3 separate regions of the Homo sapiens genome follow, and regions 1 and 2 are each linked to region 3. The links are contacts of gene promoters, found by promoter capture Hi-C in human tissues and cell types (Jung and others, 2019). All regions are on one chromosome and are shown on one strand. The core of a region is centred on a gene start or on the middle of the fragment in contact, and the rest is flanking DNA. Distances in the headings are between cores, read along the strand shown.

What was found. The method cuts DNA at HindIII sites, captures the fragments that hold promoters and counts their contacts. A contact is called where the count stands out against the background at its distance.
Region 1: a contact is called between a fragment that was not itself captured here and the fragment with the promoter of APC2 in region 3, in 1 of the 25 tissues and cell types used here (H1 embryonic stem cells).
Region 2: a fragment that was not itself captured here is called in contact with the fragment with the promoter of APC2 in region 3 in 1 of the 25 tissues and cell types used here (spleen).

Annotation. Positions count from the first base shown.
Region 1 is chr19:1,616,262-1,619,802 of GRCh38, reverse strand. TCF3 (transcription factor 3) reads left to right here. Exons shown (of 19, transcript NM_003200.5): 14 at 1-23; 15 at 329-487; 16 at 569-692. It also overlaps the pseudogene RNU6-1223P. Among named protein-coding and RNA genes, the nearest start is that of UQCR11, 13 kb to the right of the region's middle. The HindIII fragment of the contact is 6,389 bases long and covers 1-3,541 here.
Region 2 is chr19:1,638,975-1,642,540 of GRCh38, reverse strand. All of the region lies in intron 3 of TCF3 (transcription factor 3), which reads left to right. Among named protein-coding and RNA genes, the nearest start is that of TCF3, 12 kb to the left of the region's middle. The HindIII fragment of the contact is 9,192 bases long and covers 1-3,566 here.
Region 3 is chr19:1,447,841-1,451,370 of GRCh38, reverse strand. It overlaps APC2 (APC regulator of Wnt signaling pathway 2), which reads right to left and starts at 1,250. Exons shown (of 15, transcript NM_005883.3): 1 at 1,033-1,250. RefSeq lists a silencer at 1,204-1,403. The HindIII fragment of the contact is 30,284 bases long and covers 1-3,530 here.

The DNA of each region.
Region 1 (3,541 bases), core at 939-3,438, 170 kb before region 3:
ACGACGGGGGTCTCCACGGCCTGGTGAGTGCCTGCCCCGCCCCACCCCACCCTTCCCCGACAGAATTTGCAGGACAGACGCTCCTTGAGAAGGAGAAACCTTTTTGTTAGTTTCTTGTAAATAAGCCCCAAGCTGTTATTGAGGCCTCGTGGCCGCCAAGGCACACACATTTTGTGTGTGCTCCCGGGCGCCAGATGCCTGGCATATGCAGCTTCCTGGGGAAGGGGAAGATGGGACCACCGGCCACTTGCATGCGGAAGGGACATGAATGGAGGCCTGTGGGGTCCCTCGGCTTGGGCCCCTCACCACCCATCCCCCCACCCTGCAGCAGAGTAAGATAGAAGACCACCTGGACGAGGCCATCCACGTGCTCCGCAGCCACGCCGTGGGCACAGCCGGCGACATGCACACGCTGCTGCCTGGCCACGGGGCGCTGGCCTCAGGTTTCACCGGCCCCATGTCACTGGGCGGGCGGCACGCAGGCCTGGTGAGCGCTGGGCGAGGGTGGAGCTGGGCAGTGGGCGGGGACCCGGCTCCCCCTGATGCACCCGTCTCCCCACGCCTGCAGGTTGGAGGCAGCCACCCCGAGGACGGCCTCGCAGGCAGCACCAGCCTCATGCACAACCACGCGGCCCTCCCCAGCCAGCCAGGCACCCTCCCTGACCTGTCTCGGCCTCCCGACTCCTACAGTGGTAAGCCCTTGAGCTTGGGACTGTCCGACTCCTGGTTCCAGTTGGGGAAACTGAGGCACTCTAGTGGTGGGGGTCAGGGTGGGAGCCCAGGGCAGGTGTCACCGTGGGGGCACCTGGTGACATGGGCGCCCCAGTCAGCAACTTCAGGAGGGTGGGTAAGACCGGCGGGGCCGGCGTTGGCCCTGGGCGTGTGAGGTGGACAGCTCTGGGCTGCCTCTTCATTCGCCTGCTCCCAGACGCTGTGTGCCTGGCAGCGCTCAGCACTGGGGAAGGGGCGAGGGGTGCAGCAGGATGCCTCTGCCTCAGGGGAGACAGACCAGGAGCTCGCTGCACAGTACAGGTGCCAGGGAGAAGGAACGAAGTGGCTGCGGTGGGTTGGGGGTTTTGTATGGCTTTGAAGATGGTGGCCCATGAGGCCACAAGGTGGTGTTTGGGCAGCATCTGGGAGGAGGCAAGAGTAGGCAAGTACCTGGAGGAGGAGGGTTTCAGGCAGAGGGCGCAGCCCAGGCAAAGGCCCTGGGGCTGGACTGCACCTGGGAGGAACAGCCAGGAGACCCGTGGGGTTGGAGCAGAGTGAGGAGAGGGAGAGAGGGAAGGGGGGAGGGCGGGGCAGGGCAGGTCATGCGGGGCCTTGTGGGCTGCGGGGAGGACTTGGGATTTGGCCATGAGAAAGGTGGCAGCCGTGGAGGGCTGAGGAGGGATGGGACCTGACCCAGGTGCTCACAGATACCCTCTGGTGGCTGCTTGGAGGACAGACTATGAGTGGCACCGGGAGACCAAGGCAGAGGCCACAGGGCTGGTCCAGGGGCCTTGGAGGGGTGAGCAGTGGGTGGGCCCTGCATCTCCTGAAGGCGGGGCCCACAGGATTTGTGATGGACAGGACTTGAGGGTGAGAGAAGGCAGGGTGGCTCTGGGATTTCTGGCCCGAGCTGTGGGTGACACTGGGGCTGGGAACTCCGTAAGGAAGGGGACAAAGGAAAAGGTTGGGGACAAATCTGGACCTGGGCCTGGGGATTGTTGAGTGTCTCAGACACCCATGAGAGGCCCAGGAGAAGGTGGGGTCATTGTGGGCGCTGTCCTGGCCCTGTGCCTTCCACCAGCCCAGGAATCCTGCCTGCTTTCCAGGCAGACTTTCCAAGTACCTTGATTCTATCACTCCTAGGCCAGGGCATCTCACCGCAGCGGCTCTGCCCCCAGGGGACACTGGGTGATGTCTGGGGACATCTACAGTTGTCAGGGCTGAGGGGAGCTCCTGGCATGGAGTGGGTGGGGGCCAGGGATGCTGCTCAGCACCCTGCAGTGCCCAGGACGGCCCCACCCCAGAGAAGGGTCCGGACCCACAGGTCAGCAGTTTCCAGGGGCAGCCCCAAGCTTAGTCTTTCACCCATAGGCTCCCCTCTGTTTCCTTCCTGTCCTTCACTTCGTGTGCTGAGGCCTGGGCTGGTCCTGGTGGCTGGCGTTGGCCGATTGGAGCAGAGTTCACTGTGGGGAGCGGGTGCATTTCTGAGGCTCCCCCTCAGGGTACGGGGGTCTCAGGGGATGGCAGCTGGTTTGCTCCATGTGAGCCCTGACTGATTCCTGGACTCCCCAAGCCCGGGTTTTGGGGGTGGCCCAGGCCCTGCTGAATGCAGAGTGGCCGCATTCATTTGGGGCACTGTGTACCCTTAAGCCACATGTTTTGCAATTATTGTTCTTGAGCTTCATGAACACGGCGTCCCACTAGCGTGTTCTTTACACGCTGGTTTGCTGGCTTATGTTGTGTGTGGGGTACATGTGTGGTGTGAGCGGCTGGGGTCCCATTGTGAGTGTGCCGTTGGCCCTGGCCCGGGCGTGGGGCTGTAGGTCATTCCAACATCACGCTTTCCTGCCAACCTGCTGATCAAGGGTGTGATACACCTGTTGTCAATTCAGAGGAAAGGCTGATGAATTATTTTCCAAAGCAGCCAAGTTGCCCTCCCACAGGCAAGATTTTGACTGTTCAGGTCCCTCAACTTTGCTAGCTGACTGGGTATGAAAGGGTAGCGCAAAGCCACCCTAATTTGCATTTCCTTAATCTCTTGATGTGCTGAAGCGGACTTCCACGTGTTTCTAGCCATGTGGTTTCCTTGTCTGTGAGATGCCTTTTTGGATACCTTGCTTATTTTTCTACTGAGTTACTTTCTTTTTGTCCTTTCCCATTGATTGTGGGAGATCACCTCCTGGTTGGCTACATCTGTGGTGGGTGTCTTCTATTCTTTGGCAAATGCTTTTCTTTTCCTGGTATCTTTGCTGATCAGGAACTCTCAATTCTGATATAGTCCAGCTTACTGATTTTTGTTTTTTCTTTTTTACTTGTTTTGTTTTGAGACAGGGTCTCACCCTGTCACACCAGAGTGCAGGGGCATGATCACAGCTCACGGTAGCCATGACCCCCTGGCCTCAAGTGACCCTTCCACCTCAGCCTCCCAAAGTGCTGGGATCACAGGCGTGAGTCAGCCACTGTGCCCGGCCTGTGTTCTTTCAAAAGCAGCGCTTTGAGCACTTGCTTGGACAGCTCTTGGACTAAAATGAGAATGATAAAGATTAGCATAGCATCTGCACAAGGGTGACGTGGACATTCCTGAAGTGTTCCAAAGTTTTATTCTTTTTTTTTTTTTTGAGACGGAGTCTTGCTTTGTCACCCAGGCTGGAGTACAGTGGCGCAATCTTGGCTCACTGCAACCTCCGCCTCCTGGGTTCAAGTGATTCTCCTGCCTCAGCCTCCCAAGTAGCTGGGATTACAGGTACCCACCACCACAGCTGGCTAATTTTTTGTATTTTTAGTAGAGATGGGGTTTCACCATGTTAGCCAGGATGGTCTTGATCTCCTG
Region 2 (3,566 bases), core at 213-2,712, 190 kb before region 3:
GTTACTCTCTTGGGCCCTCGTCCTTGAAGTTGATCCACTTTTTATTCTGAAGTCTTTCGGGATTCACAGGAAGTGGCAGAGTGTTCTCCTCTCACCTAGCCACCCCCAGGGGTACCGTCCCGCCCACCCGTGGTGCTGCGTCAGACCTAGGAAGCCGACATTGGTGCCGTCCACAGATCCTGATCAGATTCCACCGGCTTTACACGCACGTGTGTGTGTCTGTGTGTGCGTGCGGGTGTGTGTCTGTGCGTGTGCGCGTCTGTGCGTGTGCGTGCGTGTGTGCGCACGTGTGTGTGCGTCTGCGCGTGCGTGTCTGTGCGTCTGCGCGTGTGTGCGTGTCTGCGTCTGTGTCTGCGTGCGTGTGTGTACGCGTGCGTGTGTGTGTGTGTGTGTGTGTGTGTGTGTGTGTGTAGTTCTGTGCAGTTTTGAGACATGCACCTTCTTTAAGCCCAGGAATCACCAATCTGTTCTTCATCTGTACGATTTTTTTTTTTTAGGGACCAGGTCTCACTCTGTTGTCCAGACTGGAGTGCAGTGGTGTGATCATAACTGACTGTAGCCTTGAAGTTCTGGGCTCAACTGATCCTCCCACCTCAGCCTTGTGAGCAGCTGCGACCACCTAATTAAAAAAATATGTATTTTGTAGAGGGCTGGGTCAGCGGCTCACACTGGTAATCCCCAGCACTTTGGGAGGTTGAGATGGGAGAATTGCCGGAGCCCAGGAGTTCAAGACCAGCCTGGGCAACATGGAGAAACCCTGTCTCTGTTTAAAAAAAAAGAAAAATTTCAGCTGGGTGCGGTGGCTCACACCTATAATCCCAGCATTTTGGGAAGCCAGGGTGTGTGGATCACATGAGGCCAGGAGTTCAAGACCAGCCTAGTCAACGTGGCGAAACCCCGTCTCTGCTAAAAATACAAAAATTAGCTGGGCGTGGTGGTGCGTGCCTGTCATCCCAGCTACTCGGGAGGCTGAGACACGAAAAGCACTTGAACCTGGGAGGCGGAGGTTGCAGTTAGCTGAGATTGCGCCACTGCACTCTGGCCTCGGGGACAGAGGGAGACCGTGTCTGAAGAATAAAAAAATATTGTCTAGATGGGGTCTTGCTGTGTTCTCCAGGCTGATCTTGTATTCATGAGCTCAAGTGATCCTCTTACCTCAGCCTCCCAGAGTGCTGTGATTACATGTGTGAGCCACTGTGCCCAGCCCAATTTTTCACTTTGAGTATTTTGTGTAAATGGAATCCTATAGTTTGCAACCTTCTGAGATTAGCTTTTATTCTGTTACGTTAGCATAATTCCCTGGAGATCCAGCCAAGCTGTTGGCTGTATCTTTTTTTTTTCTTTTTATTGCTGCCTCATTAACTTTTTTTTTTTTTTTGAGACCGAGTTTTGCTCTTGTTGCCCAGGCTGGAGTGCAGTGGCACGATCTCAGCTCACTGCAACCTCCGCCTCCGCCTCCGCCTCCTGAGTTCAAACGATTCTCCTGCTTCAGCCTCCTGAGTAGCTGGGAATATAGGTGCCTGCCACCATGCCTGGCTAATTTTTTGTAGTTTTAGTAGAGACATGGTTTCGCCACGTTGGCCAGGCTGGTCTCAAACTCCTGACCTCCAGTGATCCACCCACCTCGGCCTCCCAAAGTGCTGGGATTACAGGCGTGAACCACCGCGCCTGGCCGCCTCATTAACTTTTTAACAACATCAGTAATACAACAATTTACATCACTTTTTTTTTTTTTTTGAGACGGAGTCATGCTCTGTCACCCAGGCTGGGGTGCAGTGGCGTGATCTCAGCTCACTGCAAGCTCCGCCTCCCAGGTTCACGCCATTCTCCTGCCTAGCCTCCCTAGTAGCTGGGACTACAGGTGCCGGCTAAGTTTTTGTATTTTTAGTAGAGACGGGGTTTCACCTTGTTAGCCAGGATGGTCTCCATCTCCTGACCTTGTGATCCGCCCGCCTCGGCCTCCCGAAGTGCTGGGATTACAGGTGTGAGCCACTGCTTACATCAGTGTTTCTTGAGCACTGTGCATTGGACACAAAGCTTGGCTTATTCACTGGGAATTCTCAGTTCTAACAGGTTAGCGAAATAGGTGTAATTATTACCGTATTTTACTGGTAAAGAAGCTGAAACTTAGAGAGTTTAGTAACCATTGCGCTAATTTTTTGTATTTTTAGTAGAGGCAGGGTTTCACCGTGTTAGCCAGGACAGTCTCGGTCTCCTGACCTGGTGATCCTCCCGCCTCGGCCTCCCAAAGTGCTGGGATTACAGGCATGAGCCACCGAGCCCGGCCTCATTTGGCTGTTTGATAATGTTTGTAGGCGCCTGTCTGTCCACCCGTGCCAAAAGTGCTGGGATTCCAGGCCTGACCCTCTGCGCCTGGCCCCGTTCGGCTCTTTGATAACGTTTGGAGGCGCCTGTCTTTCCACCTGCGCAGGGAGGCTGAGGGCGCCGCGGTCCTCAATGCGCCAACTTTTAGGTGGTTTCTTTGTTCTTGACTCGGCTGCCCTGTGCATTTTCTCTCTCTCGTTGATTTTTCTTCTGGAGAATCTGCTTCATTGGCAAATCGATATTGATCAATTGATCAATTTTCCTCTTTATCGGCATTTCTTCTCTTTCTAAAGTTTTTGGTGACTTTCAGATCACAGGCCCCTTTTGCTGACTTCTGCCCTCTTCTGTTCCATCAGTGTGGTGTTGAGGGTTCCACCCCGTGAACCCCATCCCATTGGTTTCCATAATGCATGTTTTTCTCATATTACTGACATTTGTTCCTTTTTTTTTTTTTTTTTTTTTTTCCTAATTTCCTCTTCAGGTCAGGTTGCTTCAGAGGTTTCTGAGTTCCAAGTTGGAGGTCCTTTCTTGATTTCTAGATCTCCAGTGCCAAAACTCAGCTTTGGCTTAAACGGTAGCTACTGTTTGGAGGACGCAGAGCTCCTCTGCCGAGGCTGAAACATGGATTATTTTTGTCCTTCTTTGTGAGTACTTGAGGGATAGTTGGATGTGGAGCTGCGAGGCCTTTGAACCATATTTAGATTTTTAATCTGTTTAATGTCAGGCTGAGAGCAGCGCCATCCCCCTCTGTTCTGTTTGTCGGTTTCTCTGTTGACGTATTTAGATGCCAGGATTGTGGGCTTGTGTGGGCTGAGACAGTGGGATTTCGTTGTGGGTCGAGCCATTGTCAACAACAAAAAAATCCGTTCCTTGGCTGGTGGTGGTGGCTCATGCCTGTAATCCCAGCACTTTGGGAGGCCAAGGCAGGTGGATCTTCTGAGGTCAGGAGTTCAAGACCAGCCTGGCCCACAGGGCGAAACTCCATCTCTACTAAAATATAAAAAATTAGCCAGGCATGGTAGCAGGTGCCTGCAATCCCAGCTGCTCGGGAGGCTGAGGCAGGAGAATCACTTGAACCTGGGAGGCAGAGGTTGCAGTGAGCTGAGATCGCGCCACCGCACTCCACCCTGGGCGACACAGCGAGACTCTGTCTCAGAAAAAGAAACCTCCCTTGAATTGAAACTTCGATATGAAGGTTGCAACCCTTCCTTTTTGTTGGTGTGGCTTGGCAGATCTTTGTG
Region 3 (3,530 bases), core at 1-2,500:
GGTCACCATCCCATGCCCAGCCAGGTGGAAGGACCAGATGACGTGCAAAGCAACACATGTCTGCCTCCTGCTCCCCAAACCCAGGCCTCCCCCACGTGGTTCTTCTCAGCTGACCGAAGCCAAGCCTCAGACACCTTCCCTCTCCCCACATTCGGTGGTCATTTCTGCATCCTCATCAGACTAAGCTAGTCCCTCCAAGCTCTGCCCAGCGGGATCATGCCTCCCCCAGCTCCTGACACCCCTCTGTGAGGACATTCTGATCAGCCTCTTCCTGGCCTCCCACAGTCCCCCATGCACAGCCAGAGGGAGCTTTAAACGTCACAAGTGAGATCCCATTTCTCCCATGCTCAAACACCTTCCATGGCTCCCCAGTGCCCTCAGGATACGCTCCGACTCCTCCATGTACACCGCGACTCACTTAGAGGCTGGAGGCTCTCTTCTCTCAGGCCTTTGCACGTGCAGTTGCCCTGCCTAGAGCACCTTTTCTAAGTCCTGCCATCCCACACAGTGCAGCTTCTTCCACGAAGCTCTTCTGCCTACTTTCACCCCCAGGTTGCATCGTGTAGCCTCCTGGGGGCCTTCCTGAGCGATCACTCCCTGAAGGCACCATGACTGGGGGCTGGTCTTATTGAGCGGGCTGCATTTCAGGGGAGGGAGGCACAGGTATGGGAAGCCAGGCCCAAAGGGGCCTTTCTCCTTCCTTTAATCCAAACCCCCTCTTTCCAGAGAGGGAAACTGACACCCAGAGAGGTGCAGCAACACCCCCGAAGACACACCACTGGCCTGCCCATCCCTTCCTCCGATCACCTCAGGGAGGTCCGGATGGTGAAGCCCGTGAGTGGGTGTGTGCGCAGGACCGGCTGCAGAAACGCTGACGCCCAGCTCACCGGGACTCAGTTTCCCCTCCAGCTCCCACTCTGGGGAAATGGAGGGTCCAGAGTCTGTGCTGACGGGCAATGCTGAGAGCCAGGGATGGAAACCTCGACGCGAGGCGGAGGTCGCGCCCCTGCCCTCCTCCCCGAGGACACACACCCGCTTACGTGCAGCTGGGCTGGCGGGGCGCCTGGGTCTGGGGCCTCCTCCCTCTGCGCGGCTCCGCGGGCCCCACCGGAAATCCCGGCCCGGGGTGGCCTCGGAGCGCGCGGGCTCCGGGGTCTCCGCGGCGCGGGCAGGGGCTCCGGGGCGGACAAAGCCCGGTCCGGGCCTGGGCAGGCGGCGCTGCCGCTCCTAGCGCTGGGCGAGACCACCGCGAGCGGGGGAGGATGCGGGATGAGGGATGCGGGTGAGACAGCCAATGAGGGCGCGGGAAGACGGGCTGGTGCCATGGCAACAGCCAATGGCGGCCCGGGGCGGGGACCGGCGTCGGCCGCGGGGCGTCGGGCCTCCGCGCGGGCTCAGGGGCCGTGAGTGCGGGGGGCGAAACCCCCCCGAGGGAAGGGGGTGCCCCGAGGACCAAGATTCCTGTGTCCCGCACTTTATTGCAGGGTGCAACGGCCTCTTAAAACCTCCTGCGTCTGGATTTGCAGAATTGGAGAGTAAAACATCAAATCCTGGATGTTACATCAGCATCTTGGCGGGGGAGGGGTTTCCAGGGCAGTGGCCGGGCTGGGGCCAGGCCTGCACCCACCCCACAGGTCCAGCCTGGCCTGGTGCAGGTGCGTCAGGGTGGGACAGGGTTCGGGTCCAGGCTGGAGCTCCCTGAGGGTCCTGCCTGGTGGGGAGGGGAGAGGGGAGGAGGGGCAGGGCCACTGGGGAGCACCTGGGACGCTGCATCTCCCCACATTTCTCCCTGTCTCCCCAACGGAGCGTCAGATCCTCCTGTAACTCCGTTGCTCTTCATGTCCCTCTCTCTTTCTGTCTCCCCCTCTGTTCTCTGTCTCTCAATCTCTGTCTCCATGTGTCTCTGCCCCTGGTGGGTGGCACACTTAATTCACCCTCACGGACCGAAGGCCAGAGGAGGGAAGGGCCAGGGGTCCCAGGAGTCGCCATCTCCAGGTGTCCTGGATGCTCCATGAGTCCCTGGAAGCCATTTGAAGGTTTAACACACAGAGCCCGTCCCTGCAGCTCGGAGCAGCCCTTCCTGCTCTGGACACAGACTCACAGCACAGAAAGGGAGGCGACTGGGGCCAGAAGAGTGATTTTTTTCCGTGCTGGGCAGGCAGGGCAAATCATTCGCCGCTCAACCCTCGGTTTCCTCCTCTGTAAAATGGAGAGGAGGCGGAAGATTCTGCAAGGGCTGGTGCAGGGAATGATAGGAGAGGGTGGGAAGGTCCGAGTATTCAAGGCCCCGTAGACAAAGGCAAGGGAGGACCCGTGCTGTTTCCTGTTGGGCCTTGAGCTGAAGACCCGAGGGCCTTGTCCCGGGCCAGCACTGCCAGGGGCTGAGAGCCCTTCGGCCTGGCTGTCTGGGAGCCCCCAGAGCTGGACGCAGCTGTCCCCACTGGTTGGGTCTGGGGAGGCAATGCAGTGGGCAGACACAGGGGATCTTTTCTTTTTTCTTTTTCTTTTTTTTCTTTTTTTTTTTTTTGAGACGGAGTCTTGCTCTGTAGCCCAGGCTGGAGTGCAGTGGCACGTTCTCGGCTCACTGCAAGCTCCGCCTCCCAGGTTCACGCCATTCTCCTGCCTCAGCCTCCCGAGTAGCTGGGACTACAGGCGCCCGCCACCACGCCCAGGCTAATTTTTTGTATTTTTTAGTAGAGACGGGATTTCACGTTAGCCAGGATGGTCTCGATCTCCTGACCTCGTGATCCACCCGCCTCGGCCTCCCAAAGTGCTGGGATTACAGGCGTGAACCACCACGCCCGGCCTTTTTTTTTTTTTTTTTTTAGATGGGGTCTTGCTCTGTCCCCCAGGCTGCAGTGCAGTGGCGCCATCTCGGCTCACCGCAACCTCCGCCTCCTGGGTTCAAGTGATTCTCCTGCCTCAGACTCCTCAGTAACTGGGATTACAGGCATGTACCACCTTGCCAGCTAATTTTTGTATTTTTAATAGAGAGGGGGTTTCACCGTGTTGGTCGGGCTGGTCTCAAACTCCTGACCTCATGATCCGCCCGCCTCGAAGGGGATTTTTTTCTGGAGGCTGGAAGGCTGCCCTGAGAAGTGAACAGCAGTGATCAGGAGGAGAGGCGTTCCAGGCTGAGGGAAGATCAATGCATGCTTGGGACACAGGGGGTGTCTGGTGGAGCCATGGGGTAGGGCGCGTGGTGGGGTTTGACAGGTCAAGCCGGGGCAGAGCTGGGCGAGGCTGAAATGGGGTTGGGGATGCAGAGCCCAGGGCCCTGGCTTCAGCTCAGCCTTGTTGTCCCTGTGTCCCCCTGGGCATGTCTCTCTCTGGCCTCGGTTTCCAGTCTTGTTTACTGAAGGGTGGGTTGGATGATCCCTGCCTCCCCCAAAGAGGAACTAAGTCCCACCTCCCTGTGTAGTTTCAGATGTCTCAGCTCCCCAGGCCCCCATCAGGCAGGGGTTTGGGGGATCCAAGGTCAGTCCTGTCCTTGTATACATGGGGAAACTGAGGCCTGGGCCAGGGAACGT